Linked DNA regions of Homo sapiens: regions 1, 3 and 4 are each linked to region 2. Evidence: promoter capture Hi-C in 16 types of primary human blood cells and fetal thymus (Javierre and others, 2016). All regions are on one chromosome and are shown on one strand. The core of a region is centred on a gene start or on the middle of the fragment in contact, and the rest is flanking DNA. Distances in the headings are between cores, read along the strand shown.

What was found. Contacts are between HindIII fragments. The CHiCAGO score rates a contact against its expected background, and 5 or more counts as called.
Region 1: a contact is called between a fragment that was not itself captured here and the fragment with the promoter of IFNE in region 2, in 2 of 17 cell types (naive B cells and total B cells). The highest score is 6.7, in naive B cells.
Region 3: a contact is called between a fragment that was not itself captured here and the fragment with the promoter of IFNE in region 2, in 4 of 17 cell types (naive CD8 T cells, endothelial precursors, naive CD4 T cells and 1 more). The highest score is 7.7, in naive CD8 T cells.
Region 4: a fragment that was not itself captured here is called in contact with the fragment with the promoter of IFNE in region 2 in 1 of 17 cell types (non-activated CD4 T cells); the score reaches 5.4 in non-activated CD4 T cells.

Annotation. Positions count from the first base shown.
Region 1 is chr9:21,316,499-21,321,785 of GRCh38, reverse strand. The region is part of intron 2 of LOC107987053 (a long non-coding RNA gene); the gene reads right to left. It also overlaps the pseudogene IFNA20P. Among named protein-coding and RNA genes, the nearest start is that of IFNA5, 14 kb to the right of the region's middle. The HindIII fragment of the contact is 168 bases long and covers 1,498-1,665 here.
Region 2 is chr9:21,478,991-21,484,712 of GRCh38, reverse strand. It overlaps IFNE (interferon epsilon), which reads left to right and starts at 2,400. Exons shown (of 1, transcript NM_176891.5): 1 at 2,400-3,874. The coding sequence starts at 3,019. The coding sequence ends at 3,645. All of the region lies in intron 1 of MIR31HG (MIR31 host gene), which reads left to right. The HindIII fragment of the contact is 2,296 bases long and covers 358-2,653 here.
Region 3 is chr9:21,733,586-21,738,655 of GRCh38, reverse strand. The region is part of intron 1 of LOC107987026 (a long non-coding RNA gene); the gene reads left to right. Among named protein-coding and RNA genes, the nearest start is that of MTAP, 67 kb to the left of the region's middle. The HindIII fragment of the contact is 1,037 bases long and covers 1,519-2,555 here.
Region 4 is chr9:21,683,058-21,688,036 of GRCh38, reverse strand. No RefSeq gene overlaps it. Among named protein-coding and RNA genes, the nearest start is that of MTAP, 120 kb to the left of the region's middle. RefSeq lists an enhancer at 2,353-3,552. The HindIII fragment of the contact is 2,215 bases long and covers 1,563-3,777 here.

The DNA.
Region 1 (5,287 bases), core at 332-2,831, 160 kb after region 2:
TTCCTTTCTTAATCTGCAGTCTGACAATGTCCCAGGCACAACAGATGTGTTCTTTCTTTCTCACATAGAGACTGATTGCTTGTGAATACTCCTTCACAGCCAGGCTGGAGTCCTCCTACTCAAGGTCTCTTTGATTTCCTATACCCAAACAGGTCTCCAGAAATTCTAGCTACTGATCAAGCCCAGTGAGGAATTTCAGTTCTTTGTGCTGAAAACGTTGGAGATCTGCTGGATCATCTCATGAAGAACATTGGTGGCCTGAGCCTTTTGGAATTTGGTGCCATGCGGCTGCTCTAGGGGAAACTTAAAAAACATTCTTGTTCTTCAGACAGGAAGAAAAGAAAGATTCTCCCAATTTGGTGCAGAACTTTGAAGGTCACCTATTTATGGCAGCCCATGGCTCTGGGCTAGGCCACAGCTAAAGCTGCAGAGAGAACTGCAGAATATCATCCTCAGTGTCACTAGGGAAGAGGTTGGCCGGGTCATTGGTGGGATACAGCTGGCTAGGCCATTTGAGTCTTTACCCACCTGTCTCAGCACTTTCTTGTTGTGAGATTCTTACATAACCAGATTAGGGTTTTCAGTTTTTGTACTTATCTCAACTTTATTTCTACTTTGTTCACTTTCTCTTCTATTTATGGGTCTCAGATAATGTCATGACCTCAACACTTCTTTTGTATTATGACAATGGAAATTAAACACACTCAGAAAATGGCAAAACTCTCAATCTAATAGGAAATACCCATCCAAATGAGGCTCAATGTTGAAATAACAACCTATCTGAGTCTCAATCTATGTCTCTTTTAAAATTCTAATAAGTATACTTAGAGGTTTGATCTTGGACATTTTTACTTCTTAAACTGCACTGAAATACATGTTTCCTCACCTCTCTGCATTTCTCTTTTAAGTGGCTAATACACTAGGTTTGATTTCTTCCACCTTTCTTTACAAGAGCCACAGCTTATAATCTGTAGATAACGGTGGCATAAAACTCGAAAACCCAGGGTTAAGTCATCCAGTTGTCTTTGTTCTGTCACTAAAAATGTCTTTACTGCATATATGTGACAGACAATAGGCTTGGCAATTTAGATTAACAGATAAGTAATACAGGATGATGACTACCCTCCATGGATTCAAAGAATGGCATTTAAGACATGATTGTGATTAATTAAACACTAGCATGCTCAGTGCAGCCAAGAGGAAGAACTGAAAGCTAATGAAGAGGGAAATTGGGAGGCAGTAGAAACTGCCACTTTGTGACAACATCTGTGGCTCCTGGGAGCTTAAACAACATCAGATTTTCCTTTCCTCTTCTGCAAAATTGAGACAATTTTAATAGTTGTCACATAGGAAACTGCAAAGATGAAATAAAATAAAGTTTGCAAATTACTGGCTGAGAATCTGAACATGGTAAATGATAGTTACCTTTAATTTCAATGTAATAAATAACATAATCCTGTATAGTCCACATTTAACCAAATCCAGACAAGAGAAGCTTTGATTGCAGCTCCCCTGACATTCCTGAGGTCTAACACGTTGATGTCCCTCAAATTGAAACTCTAGGAAAGGGGACTGTCTGTAAAACTGTGAAGGAGCAGAGCCCAGGTTCCCATTGTCAGAGTAGTGCCTTGCACAGAGGAAAAATTGTACAGCCCCCATGAAGCTTGTTCCAGGGAACCAGTGTCTCAGCAAGTTGCGATAGAAAATGGCTGCTCTGTGAATAGTATAAATAAATAAAATAATCCCTTTACTCAGATTCAGTTAGTTTCAAATCACCATTGATGATTATTTTTAGGCCCAAGTAAAACATATTTTGTAAACCATTTTCCTAGCCTTTACAACTCTCTAACTCAACCCTAAAAAAAAAAAGGTGATTTGAAACTAACTGAATATAGTATTATATAAAGTTACCTATAGATATATACAGAATATACACTTACATATTTATATATACATATTTAAATACAAATAAATAAGTAAATATTGTAATGTATTTAATAACATACAATATATGTTATATGCTATATTGTATATGTGTATATATAACATATCGTATATATGTTATTCTATATAAAGTATATATTGAAGTATATATATTAAAATATATAAATGTATACATATTTTTACACATTATATTTACATATGGATTTTTAAATGTACAAAAACATATATAAGATATATAAATATATATTCTTTTTTTTTTGACAAAAGTCTCACTCTTTTGTTCAGGCTGGACTGCAGTGCTGCTGTCATACCTCACTACATCCTCGAACTCCTGGGCCCAAGTGATCCTCCCACCTTGGCCTCCCAAATAGCTGAGACTATAGGTGTGCACTACCACACCTGGCTAATTTTTTATTTTTTGGTAGAGATGGTGTCTCCTTCTGTTGACCAGGCTGGTAAATCCTGGCCTCAAGCAATCTTCCTGCCTTGGCCTTCCAAAGTACTGGCATTATAGACCTGAGCCACCACGCCAGGCCTATATATTCTTTATGTATATTTAAATACATATGCTTAAATTATGTATACTTATATATTTAATAATATACAAATTTAATATATTTTAATATGTTAAGTATAATATAATAAGCATATATTAAATTATATGAGATTGTAAAAGTATATAATACTTAAAGCTGTATATACTTAAGTATACATAATTATATTTACACATATTAATTACAAAATACATAATCTAAAAATGTAATGTATATTAATATAAGTATATAAACTTATTTTATGTTACATAAAATTTAAGTATATACAAGCATATATATACATATATATATTTCTGGAGGGAGGGGGATTGGAAATGGGACTACCTTGATTTTCAGCCATGGAAAAATCACAATACTTTGCTGATTCTGATGGCTGCCACACTCTCCCTTCCCCCCTACTTACTGGAGGATCCCATTCTTTCATTTCTGTATGACATTAGTTTCCTCCCTCCCCAGCGTAGAAATCCCAGGGTGCTCTCCTCATTCACTCACCATTAACCTGCACTGCCATTCATACAGCTGCTTCCTGTTCCATTGTAATTTCTGGCTGTCAATTTTCCCATAAGAGTACAAAGCCATCAGCTGAAAGCAAAAGTTGAGTGAGAGTTCTAGGTGTTTCAGAAACATCCAAATCACTGGCCTGTTTTTTTTTTTTTTTTTTTTTTTACTTCCCTCCTGGTGAATAGTTTTGGAAAAGAAGGAATATCCCCATTACAATAATGTAACCATCCCTGTGGAAAAAGGAAATAGAATGCAAGATCCATTTTACTCTGGAGGCCGTTGAAATATTTACAGAGGATGAGAGCCACCTACTGGCAAAGACGTGCACCAAGTCTATGGAGGGCAGGCTTTTCTGTTCTGTAAAGAATATGTAACAAACCTGCACGTTGTGCACATGTACCCTAAAACTTAAAGTATGATAATAAGAAAATAAAAATAAAAAAATAAAAAATAAGAAAAAGAATTCTGTTCCCTTGAAGGAGATTTTCGTTCATTTGTAAAAGGCCATCTTTCTCGGAAAGAATTAACCCTAATATTGGAAGAAGCCCATTTTCTTAGCTTTTGTATCACAGAGAGAGAAAACACTCCCAGATTCAGGAAGCACATGTTCTTTGAACAATGGGCAGCTATGTGGAGAGAGAAAGGGTCAGAACGTGTCCCTTGCCTCCAGCCTCTTGACTTGTCCCTCCCTCTATGTTTTGTGCTAGACTGGGAATCAGTACAACCTGCCAATGTAGGTGTAGAACTACAAGGGAAATCAAGAAAAATCTCCTGGTTAAGGTACATTAGCTCTTTCTTAACAGTAAGTTGCTAATTTTACACATTCACTCCTTAGGTCATGTCCCAACTTTATAATTAAAACATTTTCTGTTATTTTCAATGATGAGTCAACTTGCATCCCTTGTGCTTTTTACTCAGTAGTAAAAGAGAGCAAAGACATTTGTAAAGGAATCAGAGGATACAATTCTTGCCAAATGATATCAAGAGAAGGTATCTATTTGTGTAGAATTTGGGAAGTATTAAAGTGATCTGCAAATAGTGTAATTGAAGAAGTTAATCAGGAGTGTGTGTGAGAATTACTTAGATAGTAGGAAGAGGCTTCAATTTAGGAGGAATTTCTTATTCTTTGCTCAGGTTACAGACCCAACCTTCAGATTGCACTTTTCAAATGGGAGAGGAGAGAAACTGGGAAATGGGAGAGGAGAGAAACTGGGAAATTCAGTTATATTTCACAATATGTCTCTTGTCTCTTTCTTTTACCACTGAATGTGGGGTACTCAGTTTAGGAGCAGGGGAAAATATTAAAAAGTTTAATATACCTGGTTCTCTCTCTTCCTTTCTCTGTTTGTATGATTGTTTAACGACTTTCAAATATTAAGTCTCCTTTAATTCTTGGTTATTTTCTATACTGCTTATTTCTTTAATGTGATTTTCCTTTTTGTTGCTTGTCATTTCAGTGGGCAAAAATTGTACGCATATTATCATCTTACCCTGAAAAATCTCTGTGGCTATACCCTGATCATATTCAGAAGTTAATTTTTTATATATTCTAAAGTATTGGAGAACTGAGGTGAAGTGGTGGCTGAGCTGGCAGCAAGGGGCATTGTCATAACCTGCCTCACACAGTTCCCTGCCTGTGCAGTGCCCCTGGAGAAGGACACATAAAACCTTGTTTCTGCCCTGAATCCCTTGGAGGAGATACAGGAAGTCGTGGCACAGTGCCACCTGGAGACAGCTAGGTTTTGTGAGATCAAGGATCCAAAATGAATATGGTCATGCCTGGACTCTCCCTGCCTGGCAAGTTCAGTACTGCAAAGGTTAAGTACTTGAAGTTAAATACTGCTAGGCACAAAAACATAGTCAATAGAGAGAATCTTTCCCACGTGATTATACCCAACGTGTTGGTAAAGAATGCAGAAGTTCATCTGTGCCCCTGTTCAGGTGCTTCTATGTTCTGATTCCTCTAGGAAGAGACTACACTAGGCTCAGGACTCTCATTTGTTGAAAAAAGCAGAGCCCACATTATGAAACATGAAGAAGAAAAGGCAAGCAGCAGCTTTAGAACTTGGAAGGAAGAGAGAGATACTTAACACATTGACTGGAAGAGCGGCAGGTCCTCAGGAGATGGAGCAATACAAATGGGAGCACTGAATCAACTACTTAAGATTATTCTGATCAGAGAGAAGATTAAAGTGGATGCTGAAACCACAGAGTGTTCCCATGGAGACATGGCCAACGTCAGTGTCCCCACCATGGATAACACTGATACCACAGCAGCCTGAGAGTAT
Region 2 (5,722 bases), core at 1,151-3,650:
AAAATATATTTCAAAAAGAAGACACAATACTTTTTCAGACAGACAAAAGCCAAGAGAGTTTATTTCCAGGGGACGTGTAATATAAGAAATATTAGTGAAAGTAGTGTAAAGAATGAGAGAGAGGAAATATAAGGATACTGTTATAATATCCCTACACTGTACCTTAAGTGGATTGTAATATTATTTGAAGGTAAACTGTAATATGTTAAATAAAGATGTATATTTTTAATCCTAGAGAAACTGCTATGAAAACAAAAAGTAAAACAAAGTGGTATTACTAACAAGCCAATAATGGAGATAAAATGGGCAATAGAAAACAACAACAAAAATTCAATCCAAAAGAAGGAAGGAAAAGCTTAAAAGTGAGAAAAAGAACATATGGGCAGTTAGAAAACAAACAATAAAGTGGTAGATATAAACTGAGCCATACTGACAATTACATTAAATTTAATGACCTAAACACTCTAATAAAGCAAAGATTGTCAGACAGAATAAAATACAAGGTCCAACTATACGCTCTGTACAAGAAACTCACTTTAATATAATAACATGAATAAGTTAAATTAAAAGATGCAATAAAAGACATATTATGCTAACACTAATTAAAAAAACAGAAATGATTATCAGAGAAAGTTGATTTAGGAGTAAGGAATAATGCAAAGGATACAGAGGAACATTTTAAAATAAAGGGGTCAATTCATCAAGACGACATAATAATCCTAAATATGATGCACCTAATACTAAAGTTCTAAAATATATAAGGCAAAAACTGATAGAACTGAAATGGGAGATAGGCAAATCTAAAATTATACTAGGGATTTCAGCTCTTCTGTCTTGATAGTTGATAGAACAAATAGACCATCAGAAAGGATACAGAAAATTTCAAACACTTTCAATCAGCTTAACCTATTTGACATTTATAAAACAGTCCAACCAACAAAAGTAGAACATTATTATTTCAAGTTCACAAGGAACTGTCACCAAGATAAACCATATTCTAAGCCATAAAATAAGTCTCAATAAATTTAAACTACATTCTTTAACCACAACAGATTCAAATATGAAATCAGTAACAGAAAGGCATCTGGAAAATCCCTGATCATTTGGAAATTAAACAACATTTAGATCATTTTTGTCAATTGAATGAAAATGATGAGAAAGCCTTATAGATCAGAGCTCGTTGTTATTAGATGGAGTAACTTCTGATATTCTTAATTTATTTTTATATTGTTTTCCCGAAGCTCAGCATTAAATATTTAAAGATTTTTTGAGACTAGTCAAAATTCTACTTTCCAGATAGATTGAGCATAATGTTATGAAACAAGTGTTATTCCTTTCGTATATTATATATTATCATATGTCTTTTCTCTCTCTTTCTCTTTCTCTCTCTCTCTCTCTCTCTCTCTCTCTCTCAGATAGGGAGGGAAAAGACCCTCTGTGGAGCATGCTGACTGAGTTTATTTCAACTTATTAATACTAGACTAAGTGACCAAACATACAGCTGAGCTGGTATATAATGAGACCATACATGTTTACAGAGTGCCTGTTTTTGACATTTAGGGATTCACCCAGCTGCCTGCAGAGAAATGATTAAAGATAAGACTCAACATCTTGTATTACTTTGTGTAGAACATATTAATTTATTCCAAGTCAACACATATTTATTAAGCAACTACTATAGTTGTATAGACAGCAAAGAAATCAGTAATCAGTGTTTATTTCACACTCTGAAGAGACTTTTAATCATGTAAGTACATAGTCAAGTATAAGACAGAACAAGAAAGGTGTCTTAAATAAGGTAGGTACAAAGTGTTGTGGGGATCCAGAAGATTATGGCTCCTTGGGGGAGATCTGGGCCTTAAAGGACAAGTAGTCTTTAGTCCTTGCACAGAAAGGTTCTTGAGGTAAAGGAGGCAACAGTTGATGTTTCAGAGAAAGCATCATCAATAAACACACACACACACAAGTGCTAGCTGTATTAAGGGAATACTAAATCACTTACTTTATCTGGAGTTCAGATTCCTTCACACTATATTTAGAGCAACAGTGGGATAAGATTGGAAAGGTATATTGGGGGCTTATTCAAGAGGAACTTAGAATATGGAACTGGGTATTTGTAATTCAAAGGACATTGTTAATGTAGAGATGTTCACATTAGTTTACCAGAGCTATCACTATTCTAGGGAATATACGCTAACCAAATGCCCCCAATCTCTCTTCACATATAATTTTGTCATCTATAATGGATATATATCATTTAATTATATGGCTGTACCAACATATATGTAATCATTCACCTGTCGTTGAACCTATAGGTTGTTTCTAATATTCTGCTTTGCAATAATATTATAACACTCTTCTTTTGCTAATTTTTTTGCATTGCTTCTATAGGCTAGAATCTTAGATATTAAACTGATAGGATAAGATATAAAATAATTTAAGATTGCTGATATATGTTTTAAAATTAATTATTTGCTCAAGCATTTGTGACAATTTACAGTTCTAATTGAGGTTTTAAATTTAGTAGTTTGTAGGTATTTTAAGTTTTGCCCCTGAATTCTTTATAGGTGCTGATAAGCCTTTGGTAAGTTTTACTCCATGAAAGACTATTACTGAAAAAAACGTAATCTCAATAAAAGAACTTTAATAAGCTTGACTAAATATTTAGAAAGCACATTGTGTTCAGTGAAACTTTGTATATAATGAATAGAATAATAAAAGATTATGTTGGATGACTAGTCTGTAATTGCCTCAAGGAAAGCATACAATGAATAAGTTATTTTGGTACTTCCTCAAAATAGCCAACACAATAGGGAAATGGAGAAAATGTACTCTGAACACCATGAAAAGGGAACCTGAAAATCTAATGTGTAAACTTGGAGAAATGACATTAGAAAACGAAAGCAACAAAAGAGAACACTCTCCAAAATAATCTGAGATGCATGAAAGGCAAACATTCACTAGAGCTGGAATTTCCCTAAGTCTATGCAGGGATAAGTAGCATATTTGACCTTCACCATGATTATCAAGCACTTCTTTGGAACTGTGTTGGTGCTGCTGGCCTCTACCACTATCTTCTCTCTAGATTTGAAACTGATTATCTTCCAGCAAAGACAAGTGAATCAAGAAAGTTTAAAACTCTTGAATAAGTTGCAAACCTTGTCAATTCAGCAGTGTCTACCACACAGGAAAAACTTTCTGCTTCCTCAGAAGTCTTTGAGTCCTCAGCAGTACCAAAAAGGACACACTCTGGCCATTCTCCATGAGATGCTTCAGCAGATCTTCAGCCTCTTCAGGGCAAATATTTCTCTGGATGGTTGGGAGGAAAACCACACGGAGAAATTCCTCATTCAACTTCATCAACAGCTAGAATACCTAGAAGCACTCATGGGACTGGAAGCAGAGAAGCTAAGTGGTACTTTGGGTAGTGATAACCTTAGATTACAAGTTAAAATGTACTTCCGAAGGATCCATGATTACCTGGAAAACCAGGACTACAGCACCTGTGCCTGGGCCATTGTCCAAGTAGAAATCAGCCGATGTCTGTTCTTTGTGTTCAGTCTCACAGAAAAACTGAGCAAACAAGGAAGACCCTTGAACGACATGAAGCAAGAGCTTACTACAGAGTTTAGAAGCCCGAGGTAGGTGGAGGGACTAGAGGACTTCTCCAGACATGATTCTTCATAGAGTGGTAATACAATTTATAGTACAATCACATTGCTTTGATTTTGTGTATATATATATTTATCTGTGTTTTAAGATTGTGCATATTGACCACAATTGTTTTTATTTTGTAATGTGGCTTTATATATTCTATCCATTTTAAATTGTTTGTATGTCAAAATAAATTCATTAATATGGTTGATTCTTCAAATGGGTGTATTTTCATACAGGCTGGCTGGGTAGATACAATAAAATATGCCACTAATGTAAAAATACTTTCCTTAACATAGAACTCCATTGCAATGATTTGCTTATTTGCCAGAAATTGCTAGAGACAATGAGAAATATTGGGAATAATTTGCATTTTAAGATTTGAAAATATTATTACACAGTGAATATTTACATTACAGGAGACACAATAGAAATATGGTGAAAGGACATGAACAGTTTGCAGAGAAAAAAAACTACATTAAAAGAGGTTCAATCTCACTCATGATAATAGAAATACAAATTAAATAGCATGCATGCCATTTATAGTACAACCACTATGGAGGCAATTAGGTGATATCTATTACAGATGCATGTAGCCTTTCATCTATAAATTCTAGGCCTGGAAATGTGTCCTATAAAAATACTTGCCCACAGCTGGGCGTGGTGGCTCAGGCCTGTAATCCTAGCACTTTGGGAGGCTGAGGAGGGTGGATCACAAGGTCAGGAGTTCGAGACCAGCCTGGCCAATATGGTGAAACCCTGTCTCTACTAAAAATACAAAAATTAGCCGGGCATGGTGGCGGGCACCTGTAGTCCCAGCTACTCGGAAGGCTGAGGCAAGAGAATCACCTGAACCTGGGAGGTGGAGGTTGCAGTGAGCCGAGATCATGCCACTGCACTCCAGCCTGGGCAACAGAGTGAGACTCTATCTCAAAACAAAACAAAACAACAACAACCACAACAACAAAAACTTGCCCACGTGTGAAATAACTTACAAACAATATTATTCTCTGCAGCACTATTAGTAATACCAAAAGTCAAGAAACCATCTCGATTTTCCTAATTAGAGACAGTTGAGGCATATTCATATAAAGGAACACTATTCAGCTGGAGAAACAAATGAGACGGTATTTCTTTTTAAAAAGTTGAAAATAGGCAAGATACAGAGCAGTGTACATAAAATGCTACATTTGGGGTGAAAATGTTAAATAAAACTTACGTTTGTCCTTACTGTGTATAAATAAAGAATAAGAAATAAATTACAATGATTACCTGTATTTAGGAGAAGAAGGAAGACTGAAGAAGGAGATTAGGGTGGGAGAGATTTTATAGCTCCTCTAAAAATTTTTATATTAAATTGTGTGAATATTACATATTAAGATAATAATTTAAAATGTATCTAACGAGTCACAGTTATCAGAAATATGCATGAGGGAGTCTGGCTGGTGAAGGTCAAAAGGAACAGGAGACTGAATTAGCCTGCCCCTGGTTGGGATGTCTGCTTGGAGGAGGGCTGGAGAGAAGCACACCCGTGCCAAGGGAGAGGGTTCCTGCTCCTGGGAGATGCCAGTGATGGAGGGATTCCAGCTCTTCTAGCCAGGAACTCTCAGAAGTCACCACGGAACAACGTGGGGGCAGAGAAACTAAAGTTGAGGCTTGGTGGCTATCCCACTTTCGTCCACTGTAAGGGAGCAGAGCCACAGCCCAAAACTCTGATGCTAGTTCTACTACCATGTGTCATGTTCTACGTCAGATGCATTGCATAATTGGAGGTAAAAGTTAGTAGTAAATGTAAAAACTTAGGAACGAAGCATACTCCAGTTCAGTTTAATTAATGCAAATGAGTAATGGCTGCTACTTTAGACTTGGTTTGAAAGGGAAGAGTAGGAACCGAATAGGATCCTGAAAGTGAGACAGTCACCTGCAATAGTGAAGAAGGGTAAGGAAGCAGAGGCTGTCAATCAGAAGCAAGTCTTTGCTGACTTCACATTGCAGCCAGGGGTTGATCTGTTTACCTTCAAATTCACACAAAGGTAGTGAAGTGGAGGAAGGAGAAATACCACAAGGA
Region 3 (5,070 bases), core at 788-3,287, 250 kb before region 2:
CACTTGTTCATGAATCTTCATGTCAGGTTTTGCTTCTAGGAAACCTGACCCAAGACAACTAATAAAAATATTAGACAGCTAAAAACAAATTGGCATCAAAATAAGAAAACTACCACACTGAAATAAATAAATACATTAAAATAAGTAAAATAAATAAAGCTACCAAATGAAACAAATGTCTACAAAATTTGACAATATATCAAAGCATCAAGTGTAGGAGAATTTAGTCAATATAATTACATATACTATATTTAATCTATGTGAATATATTTTAATATATTAACTGTGATTGGGAATGTCATCTTCAAAGGCAAGAAGGCCACAGCCCTACCTAATTTTAGGAGCTGGTGGAGAAGGGCAATACCTTCTTACTGACATTATTAATAGAAGCTAGGCATGGTGGCTCACATCTGTAATCCCAGCTCTTTGGGAAGCCAAGGCAGGAGGATCACTTGAGCTCAGGAGTTAGAGATCAGCTTGGGCCACATGGGGAGACCCTGTCTCTAATAAAAATAAAAATAATTTCCAAGTGTGATGGTACATGCCTGTGGTCCCCGCTACTCAGGAGGCTGAGGTGGGAGGATTGCTTAAGCCTGGGAGGTCAACACAGCAGTGAGCCATGATCACACCACCGCACTCTAGCCTCGTCAACAGAGAGAGACCCTGTCTCAAAACAACAACAAACAAAATAGGTCTGCTCAGGAAGCAGGGACCATCTGGGTTGGGGAGACCAGATATTGTCCTTGAAGAAAAGATTTTCTCTTTTCAAATGAGAGAGACTGCCTATGGCTTGCAGTTATCTGAAGTCTACTGAATAGGAAAAAAAGAGCTTTCAAGCTACAATTATAGATCAAAGGCAAACACTACAAATACTTCTTGAGAAGTATATAGAGTGTGTATAGAAGCATATACAGTCACACTAAAGTCTAATTGGTTATCCATCAACTTGGGTAGATAAACCAAGTCATATCCTTGCCATTTTGAGTTGAGTTGAGACAAAGGCTGGCAGGCAGACTTAAGGGAATTGAATCCTTGAAAAAGAGGTGGTTTTAAGGAACATAGCAAAATGGCACTTGCAGGGAGGTTGTGGGGCATAAGACAATCTCAAAACAATTATTCTTGAGCATGGTCTAACTTTTCTTCAACTGAGTAATAGTATTTTGGAAACTATCTCTAAGGAGAGTCAACGTTACCTCTAAGATAGGTCAGTACAATGATAAAACTGTAGCCTTCTTCTGTTTCCTAATTTGGCCCTTATTTTGTTAGATTAATGATGTTAGACTAGTTTTTAGAGAGTCTTTCAGCAGGGTGCTCAGGTAGAAACTTAATTAAATATTATTAATAATAATATTCACCCACTTAATGCCAGAATTGTTTCAGGCATCCCAGCTGCGAAAGCTTCCTTTAGGAACAGCACTCAATTTGTGGTTGTTCAAGTGTGGTCTACAAATTATTTTCATTGGTCTTTGAACTGGAAAAGACTGAGGCCTAAACATTTGTTTCAGGCATTGTAAAGCTTATATGAATGCAAATGGTTTTCTAGAGATTTTCTTCTTCTTTTGCAAAAAAATAGGGTCACTTGGAATGTATTGTATTGATTACCGATACAGGTTTTTTTAAGATTATGAAAAACATCATATTCAGATGTTCTTGAAATAGAGCTGTTCTCCAACCATCCTTCTTACATCAGCAACTTCAGGATATTTTTTTTGGTGTGTCTTCTTATCCTGTAGATCACATTGCTTTAGGACTTCCCACTCATTGAAACAATGGGTTTCCGTGCTTCAGGGAAAAGGTGTCAGAACATAGTCCCCACCAGAACACAGGGGAGTCCTTGTCCAGCTTTGACTGTCAAATTAGATTTTAGCTTGCATCTACAACTTGAAAATAAGTTCAAAATCCAGGCTTTGTCAGGAAAAGAAGTCACATTTTTGTAGCATACCCAGACTCAAGTCTGGTGAACTCCTTATGTTTCTTCTGTGGTGCAGAGAGCAGGACAGAGAGGATGTCCCTTCCATCAATGATCCTCTTCCTTAGGCTTGCTGAATAGAGAGCAGATGCAATGAGGAGCAGTGCCTCTCAAACTATCTGTGGGAGAAACCACTTTTAAAAAGTTTCTAACACATCTTGTTCTATTGAAAGAAGTAAAAATATTTCACTCCCATAGACACTTCTTTCACATATTTTGAGACGGCTGTTCAGAGGGCCTGCAAACGGAAGTAGCCTTGCAAAGCTCTTTTGTGGAGATTTGCATCTAAAGAGAAAATTTACATTGATGCATCCAGGCTTTCTCTGAAACCTTCCCTTGACTGGATCTAGGAAAGATTAATGGGAGCCTGACACCTTTAAAGGTCTGAAAGAAATATTTACCATTTATTCTTTTGGAGGGATATTACCTGTGAGGTTTCACCTAGGTAACATGACCATCTTTGCCAGCCAAGTCTCTCCTCTCCCTCTTACCTGTCTTGCCAGTAAATCCTGATTTACCACCATAACCTTTTTGGCCATGCTCTGAGCCTTCATTCTTTCTGTAACCTCAAGATGGTAAATAAGCTTTTGCATCCCATTGAGGGGTTGTAGGAGTCACTCTGTGGTTCTCTCCGTGTACATGTTAATAAATCTGTATGCCTTTTCACCGATTAATCTGCCTTTTGTCAGTTGATTTTTTTAAGCAAAACTTTACAGCAGGGGCCCCAACCCCTGGGCCACAGACGGGTACTACTTCATGGCCTGTTAGGAACCGGGCTGCACAGCAGGAGGTGAGCAGCGGGCTAGCGAGCATTAACGCCTGAGCTCTGCCTCCTGTCAGATCAGTGATGACATCAGATTCTCATAGGAGCACGAACCCTATTGTGAACTGCACATGTGAGGAATCTAGGTTACACTCCTTACGAGAATCTAATGCCTGATGATCTGAGCTGGAACAGTTTCATCCTGAAACCAACCCCCAGCCCCCCTTTGTGGAAACATTGGCTTTCATGAAACTGGTCCCTGGTGCCAGAAAAGTTGGGGACTGCTTCTTTAGAGGTTGAAGAGGAAGTTTTCCCTGGGCTCCCACACTATCATTTAAAAAATACAATAAAAGTGAGTTATGAGAAAAATGAAATAGAAAAACAAAGACACATAAAATAAAAGCCTAACATTTTAAATTACATTTGGTAGATATGAAATTACCCTGTTAAATTGTATCTAGAAATTTACTCTTGATTTTTGTGTGTATCTTATTGTGGGCCAGTGACAGTCCATGGCCTGGCACTAGTCTGGGTAGCACTGGTGTAGGGAAATTGAAAAGCCAGAAATCTGCACCCTCTATTTCTAGAGATGTTGGAGGAGAAGAGAGAAAAAGAGCAAGAAGACAGAATACAAGGCTCTTGCAGTCTTTCTACTCCACCATCCTCCAAACTGGCTTTGTAGAATTCTACCTTGGTGGCACCTACTTCCTTCAAGGCCAAGGAAAATGCCACACTTCATTGGCTGAAGGTAGCAAGGAAGGCAGATGAAGAAGTCAGGGATGACTGCATGTTCCTTGCAGATGCTGAAGGAATCTGATTTGTGGGCAGTGAGTTACCACTGAGCTTTGAGGCAAGGCATCAAGTGACTGGGTTGGGTAGCCTAGGCCAAGATAGAAATGAAGAACATGCCACAGTCTTAGAGGGGTCTGCAGTATCAGTGTGATCCATGGTGAAGCTAAATCACTCAGTCATAGTTAGATGTGACTGAGAGAGGGACTATTTGGAAAGGGAGAGCAGTCCAGAACAGCCATGCATCAGCAGAGAAAAGAGAGGACAACACAAAGTGTGACTTCAAGAGCACTGCTCGCCCAGGGTATCATGAGGTCATGTAAACCCCATATCTTTCCTATTCATCCAAAGGTCTTCTTGGGGAGGAGCTGGGCAGGGGTAGATGGAATCTGAAGGACTGAGCCTTTCACCTAAAAAAGATTAAACAATTACCAAATAGACTATTTATTGAATCAGACTATATTTATGAAGTTGAACTAAAGTATAGTGTCCCCATCCCTGGTCGTAAGGAAAATATGATAGGTTACAGAGAAAATAAAGAAGTTGTATCTTGTCTGCACATCTGGGATGTAGTGTTTAAAACTGCAACCACTACTTCCAAAGAATATACACATCTGTGAACTGGAGAAGCAAGCCCTTGGTAAATTAACCATCCTGGTCCTACCCTGACATGTTTCTTTGAAGCAATGTAGAGACAATAACTTTACTCACAGTTGTATCATTCCTGGGATAGGCCTTGTCAGCAAAGAGAATTCCAATATCCTAACGTATGTATAATTCATTTTCCTTAAGAATGTCTGAAAATGATGGTAAACTCAAGGAAAATAAATCATCTGCCTTCTAGTCAAGTCATCTGCTCTTCCTCATGCCATTCATTTAGAGCTTGCCTACAAGTGAAAGTACATTGGTAAAAGGGAGAGAAGACCAAATTTCCAAGGACTTCATAGGCCCTTAAATGACACAGTCAAAACCTCACCCTTAAACAGAAAACGAAAGAAAGTATATCACATTGGCAAAGGATCCAGTTTCTAGATTTAGTAAATGTAATTTTTAGTGAATGGCACATGTCTTCCCAATCTCCAGGGAAAAATGGGGGCTCACCTTTTTTTCATTATCAATTTCTTTCAAGAGTATATTTTTAAAATATTCATTTTATGAAATTGTGTGGAAAAGTTGTGAGAGACATTCTAAAAAATTATTTGACATCTGGAACTTAGAGAAGTATAGTCAAATAACTACTCAGATATCAAAGAGACAATATTTAATAAGGTTTTCTAGTACAGTACATCTCAAAATTCAATATACAAAAGAATAATTTGATTCAATAGTCTGAGATGGGACCCAAGACTCTGCACTTCACGTTTCCAGTTGATGCTAACGCTGCTCGTCCAGGAGCTGCTCTTCAAGTAGCAGAGTGTAGAGGAGTCCAATTTTTCCATAATGCAGAGCTACTTTTCAAAAGTTTAGACTTCTCTGAAATCTAAAATTGACCAGTGCAGTCAGGGGTCCTTGACACAAGTTCTTGAACAGACAAGGAGATACACTTCAT
Region 4 (4,979 bases), core at 1,421-3,920, 200 kb before region 2:
TTGAGCCCGGCAAATTGCTTGAGCCCAGGAGTTCAAAACCAGCCTGGGCAACATGGTGAAACCCTATCTCTATGGAAAATACGAAAATTAGCCAGGTGTAGTGACATGCACCTGTAGTCCCAGGTACTCAAGAGGCTGAGAAGGGAGGATGGCTTGAGCCTGAGAGGCGGAGGTTGTAGTGAGCTGAGATTGTGCCATTGCACTCCAGTCTGAGTGACAGAGTGTGATCTTGTCTTAAAAAAAAAAAAAAGAAGTACTGGAAAGCCCTGAAACCATATCAAGGGGCAACTACTGCTCAGCTTTGTTGTCATAATGTGGTAATGTACAATGTAGTAATGCCAAATCTTAGGGGTATCAGAAATCAGATGTTATAAAATACATTACTTTTAAACTGTGTTTGGATTAGCAGAACACATTTCCCAAGTCTTCATAATGGCTACAAACAGGTGTTTGCTACTTCTCTAACCTCCTTCCTACAAGCCTCCTACCAATCTCTCACTCCCTCTGTCACCACCACATTGACCCAGCTGTTCCTGAGCTGTGCAGTGCACTCTCCTGTCTCAAGGCCACTGCACCAGCACTTTCCTCATCAGGAGCACCCTTTCCCTACATAGCCACATAGCTCATTCCTTCATCTCCTTCATGTCTTTTATTAAATGTCTTCACCTCAGTGAGACCTTCCTTGACCACCCTATTTGAAATCGTATCCTCTCCCCACACTTCCTCCCAACTTGATTTTGTTCAAAAACACTTGTCTTCCTCTAATATTATGAATTTTATTTATTGGATTTGTTTTCTATCTCTTCCAACAATAGAATGTAAACTACTCGAAGACAGAGATTTTAGTTTATTTTGCTCATGGCTATGTCCCCAGTGCCTAGAACAGAGGCTGGCATATAGTAGAAACTTCATTAATGATTTTTTAAATGAAGGACTGAATACATAGATGAATCTGCAAGCCATCTTTGTTCTGTGGTTTGGGCTTCCAATTTTTGACATCTTATTTACACTGAAAATCTTATAGCACACCCTGAAGGAAAGAGAGATGATATAGTTTGGGCAGTGAACATCTAAATTATTCCTTTCTAGGAAAGTCAAATAATCAAATGACATCATCCACAAAATTGCAGAGCATTTCTTTCAGTTATAATGTCCTACATAAGCAAACTAAAGCGTACACAATCATGTCAAACTTATTAATCTCATGATATTTTAGTCGCTCTATTTTCATTCAGTGTTTATTCAATAATCATGAGGCCTTAGAATTTAAACTGCTCAGAACAAGTCCCCTTACCCACAATGTTGAGCTTCAGGTTAAGTCTAAAATTAAGCATATTTCCTTTGCTGATTGGGAAATGAAAATAAATATGAGAGAGGCAAGAGGGAGCAAAGATTAAGCCTGATCTTTGTGAAGGAAAAAAGTTAATTCACGAAGATTATGTTTTCTCTGAAAGACTCACCTTTCCCCTTTACTCTGGCCTATATGAGTCAAAATTTTGGATGCTATTCTTAAGAATTCAGGTCATTTCTCTCTCTCCTTCTACTCTTTGCTCAGAAAAGCTTCAGACAAAGCCACTAAATTTACAAACTAAAATTCAGGTTGTGGGTGTGTGTATTTTTGTGTTCTCTGACATAAGAACAGACCAAACATATAGCACTCTTCAAGGACATAGGATAGATGAACATATGTTAATATACAACAGATGTCATGAGAAGCATGAAATACATTTCATGACTCCATAGTAAATTTTGTAAGTCATTGCCACAAGAATTGGTACATAATGAAAATATAAACGTTTGAAAAAGATGAATTCTTACATAAAAATAGATTCTTAATAATTTATGAAAGGTGAATTATTTGGATATATTCTTTGCCCCTTCGAAGTATGTGACAAGTAGGGTTTAGTCTAAAACAGAAACCTCTTTAGCTATTCAATCAGGAAATTTAATTTAGGGTTTACAAAACATTGTAAGACAAGAAAATCAGGGAAACTGCCACAAGTATTCAGGAAATCAGGTAAGGCAGGAGTTGCAGGGGACCTTCATCACCTGTCTCAGTTGTCTGAAGCACCTAAGTAGGTGATTTTCAGGCAGACCCCCAAAAGTCACTGGCAAAACCTCAGATCTGCTATCTGCCAGTGACCCTGTACCTGCTCACTAACTCCAGAGCAATAACAGTGCCTTCTCTTCCACCTTCTCGTGCAAGTGTCTCTCGTTAGAAGACCCTAAATCAGAGCACTACTTACAAGGAGTCTAGAAAACATAGCCTTTATGTTTCTGGGCCTTGCTTCCAGGGAGAGTGAAGAAGGCCCCATGCTGAGACACCAACAGACAATCCTGCTCCAAGTTGAAACCAGTGGAAACAGCGTACTTTTCCTCTGTTTTCTGCAAATGGACTCAATCCATTTAGGCTGAGGCAGGCGAATTCTAGCATGACCCAGTATACCAAACTGTTCTTATGAAAGAACCAGCCACTCCCAGAACCACCAGTGGGTTTAACAACCTTTTTTTTTTTACGGCGTTTTCATTCTCTTAATAAGACAATCCCAGTCTTCTTTTCACTCACATTCACTGATTCCTTTAAAGAGTTAATTCTGCTGAAAGGTCTTGCTCTATGTGTACATTTCTTAACTGGCATCCCTACTAAGAATAGGGAGCAATGAGGAAAGGTTGTGGAAACAAGGGAAAATTAGTTTATGCAAATAAGGCAGAATGATATTTTACCAGGCTGACACTAAATTTATCTTAGTAAGATTGGTATTACAGTATAGTCTAGCAATTTTCCTCCTGCATCTCTGAAACCTTCCTAGCCTGTGACTCAGTTTCCTACATTAAGGGGCTGTTGCCGCTGTAGTTAGGGTAGTCAGAGGAAGGAAATGCTTGCTCACCTTTGCTGTGTTTGGAATAACCACTCCACATCAAAGAGGTGACTCATTCTGTCCACTTGCCAGCTCTGAGCTTGCTTTCTACCTCCCACTACCCTTTCCTGGCTGTGCTGTTCTTGGCTGGAGAGACTTTTCACCAGCAAGTCCAGGTTTGTGGAGCCTGGCACACTTACCTCCCTGAATGATGAGGCTTTCCAAGGTGGGTTGCTCTACAGGTTGGGACCTGAAGGTGACCACCAGTTTGCCCAACCTACCATTCAAGGTGTATGACTCAAAGTCAAGAAGCTGGGCTTTACTGCTCCTCAAACAGCGAAAGGGAAATGAAATCATTTTATTTCCCCCTTCGTGTTAACAGTAAATATGTAAGCTGAAGATGTTATAAGTTCCTATTTTCATTGGATTTAGAGAAACATGTTGCTGCCTGGAATCACAGAAGCCATCAGGTTCATTTCAGTGAACTCGACAGTGTTACTGTAGTGTGGGGCAGATGGTAAATGCTCAGAAAATATTTATTCGTGTTAGATATACCTCTGTCTGGATGAAAACCATCTTGTGGTAAATAACTTCACTGTAGACATTCTTAGAGAGGGAAAATCCACACTTCATTTAATAAAATCCACTACAAGATTCAATATAGAGGAGAATGTGGGCATGGAAAAATAAAGGACTTTGGAATTAATAGAGATAGGTTTGAGATTAGATGCTCTGGGCAACTCCCTTACGTTCTTATCAAATAATGCAGTGTGTGGTAAAGGAGTCTGGAGTCAGATTGATCTGTTCTAGAATCTCAGAGGCCCACTTAATAGCTACATGGCTATTGACGGTTGACTTCCTTAATCTTCAGCTTCCTCATGTAATACATAGAGTAATAATGAAATTTTCCTCATAAGCTTGTTGTAAGGATTAAATAAGACAGTGCAAATAAATGTTCTAAACAGAGACCCTAGGACACAATTAGTATCCAATAAATTTTAGATATATTCTAAACTTGTTACCTAACTTGGAAAAAGAAAAAAATAAAACATGCCATACTCTGCTGCAAAGGGATTTTACAGATTCTGTGAACATGAAGAAAATGCCTCCCGAGTGTGATTTGTAAGCATTATCTAACTTGCTCATTGTCATGAGCCCATTCCTTTTCTCCAGCATTTGAATGTGGGCTTGCTGCTATTATCTTTTGGCATAGTCCTTGAAAATTTGCACATCGGTTTAACAGACCAGCATTTAGAATGTATGCACATGCACCCTGGAACTTATGGAAAAGAAAAAGGATGCTTAGAGCTCTTGATTACTTCCATTAATGATGAGTTTGACAACCTGCATCTGCAAAATCCTCAGATACTTTACCATTGAACGTTCACATTGCCAGCATTCCCTCATGCTTGGATATTTAGGGGAACTGAAATCGACTCCTGGTGGTAGATTGGTGGTCTTCCTTTGACAGACCCTCTTCAGCTTCTTATGGTGTTTTATTTGCTATTTAATGTTCTAAATAAAGAAGATTTTAATTTAAATTATTGGCATGAATTTTATCATTTCATCATATATCTTTATATTGAGCAATACCAGTTTGAAATGCATATATAAGAGCATTTAGTTTGAATATACCCATGTATTTCATTCTTACCAGAACAGTGAAAACACTCTACTCATTCAGCTGTTGTATTTCATATCTTAATATACTACACTCACATTCTGCCATCACTCTCTCCTTTCAACTTACGAATAAATAAGGAAAGACTTTTTAAAAAGTGTGTGCTGCCCTATTTTTCCGTTTCCTTCTTTGTAATAGTCCCTGGACTGACACCTGTTGAAACCAGACCCTTCCAGGATGGTACTGGCAGTAGAATGACCTGACCATGTTAGAGCAAAGCTCCTCTTTCCCCACCTTTCCTTTAAAGCAGCCGGTTAACCTTCTTTGGCCTGCTCTGCTAAGTAATAATGCTTCTGGGGCATTTGGAGAAGAATTGGTGTGAATGGGTTTATATATTACCCAGATGGCCTCACTATTACTCATAGTCAATTGGGAAATTTCCAACCATTTCTACTTCTAATTACCTAAGGGATTTGAACAGACATCTGCTATTGAGCTCA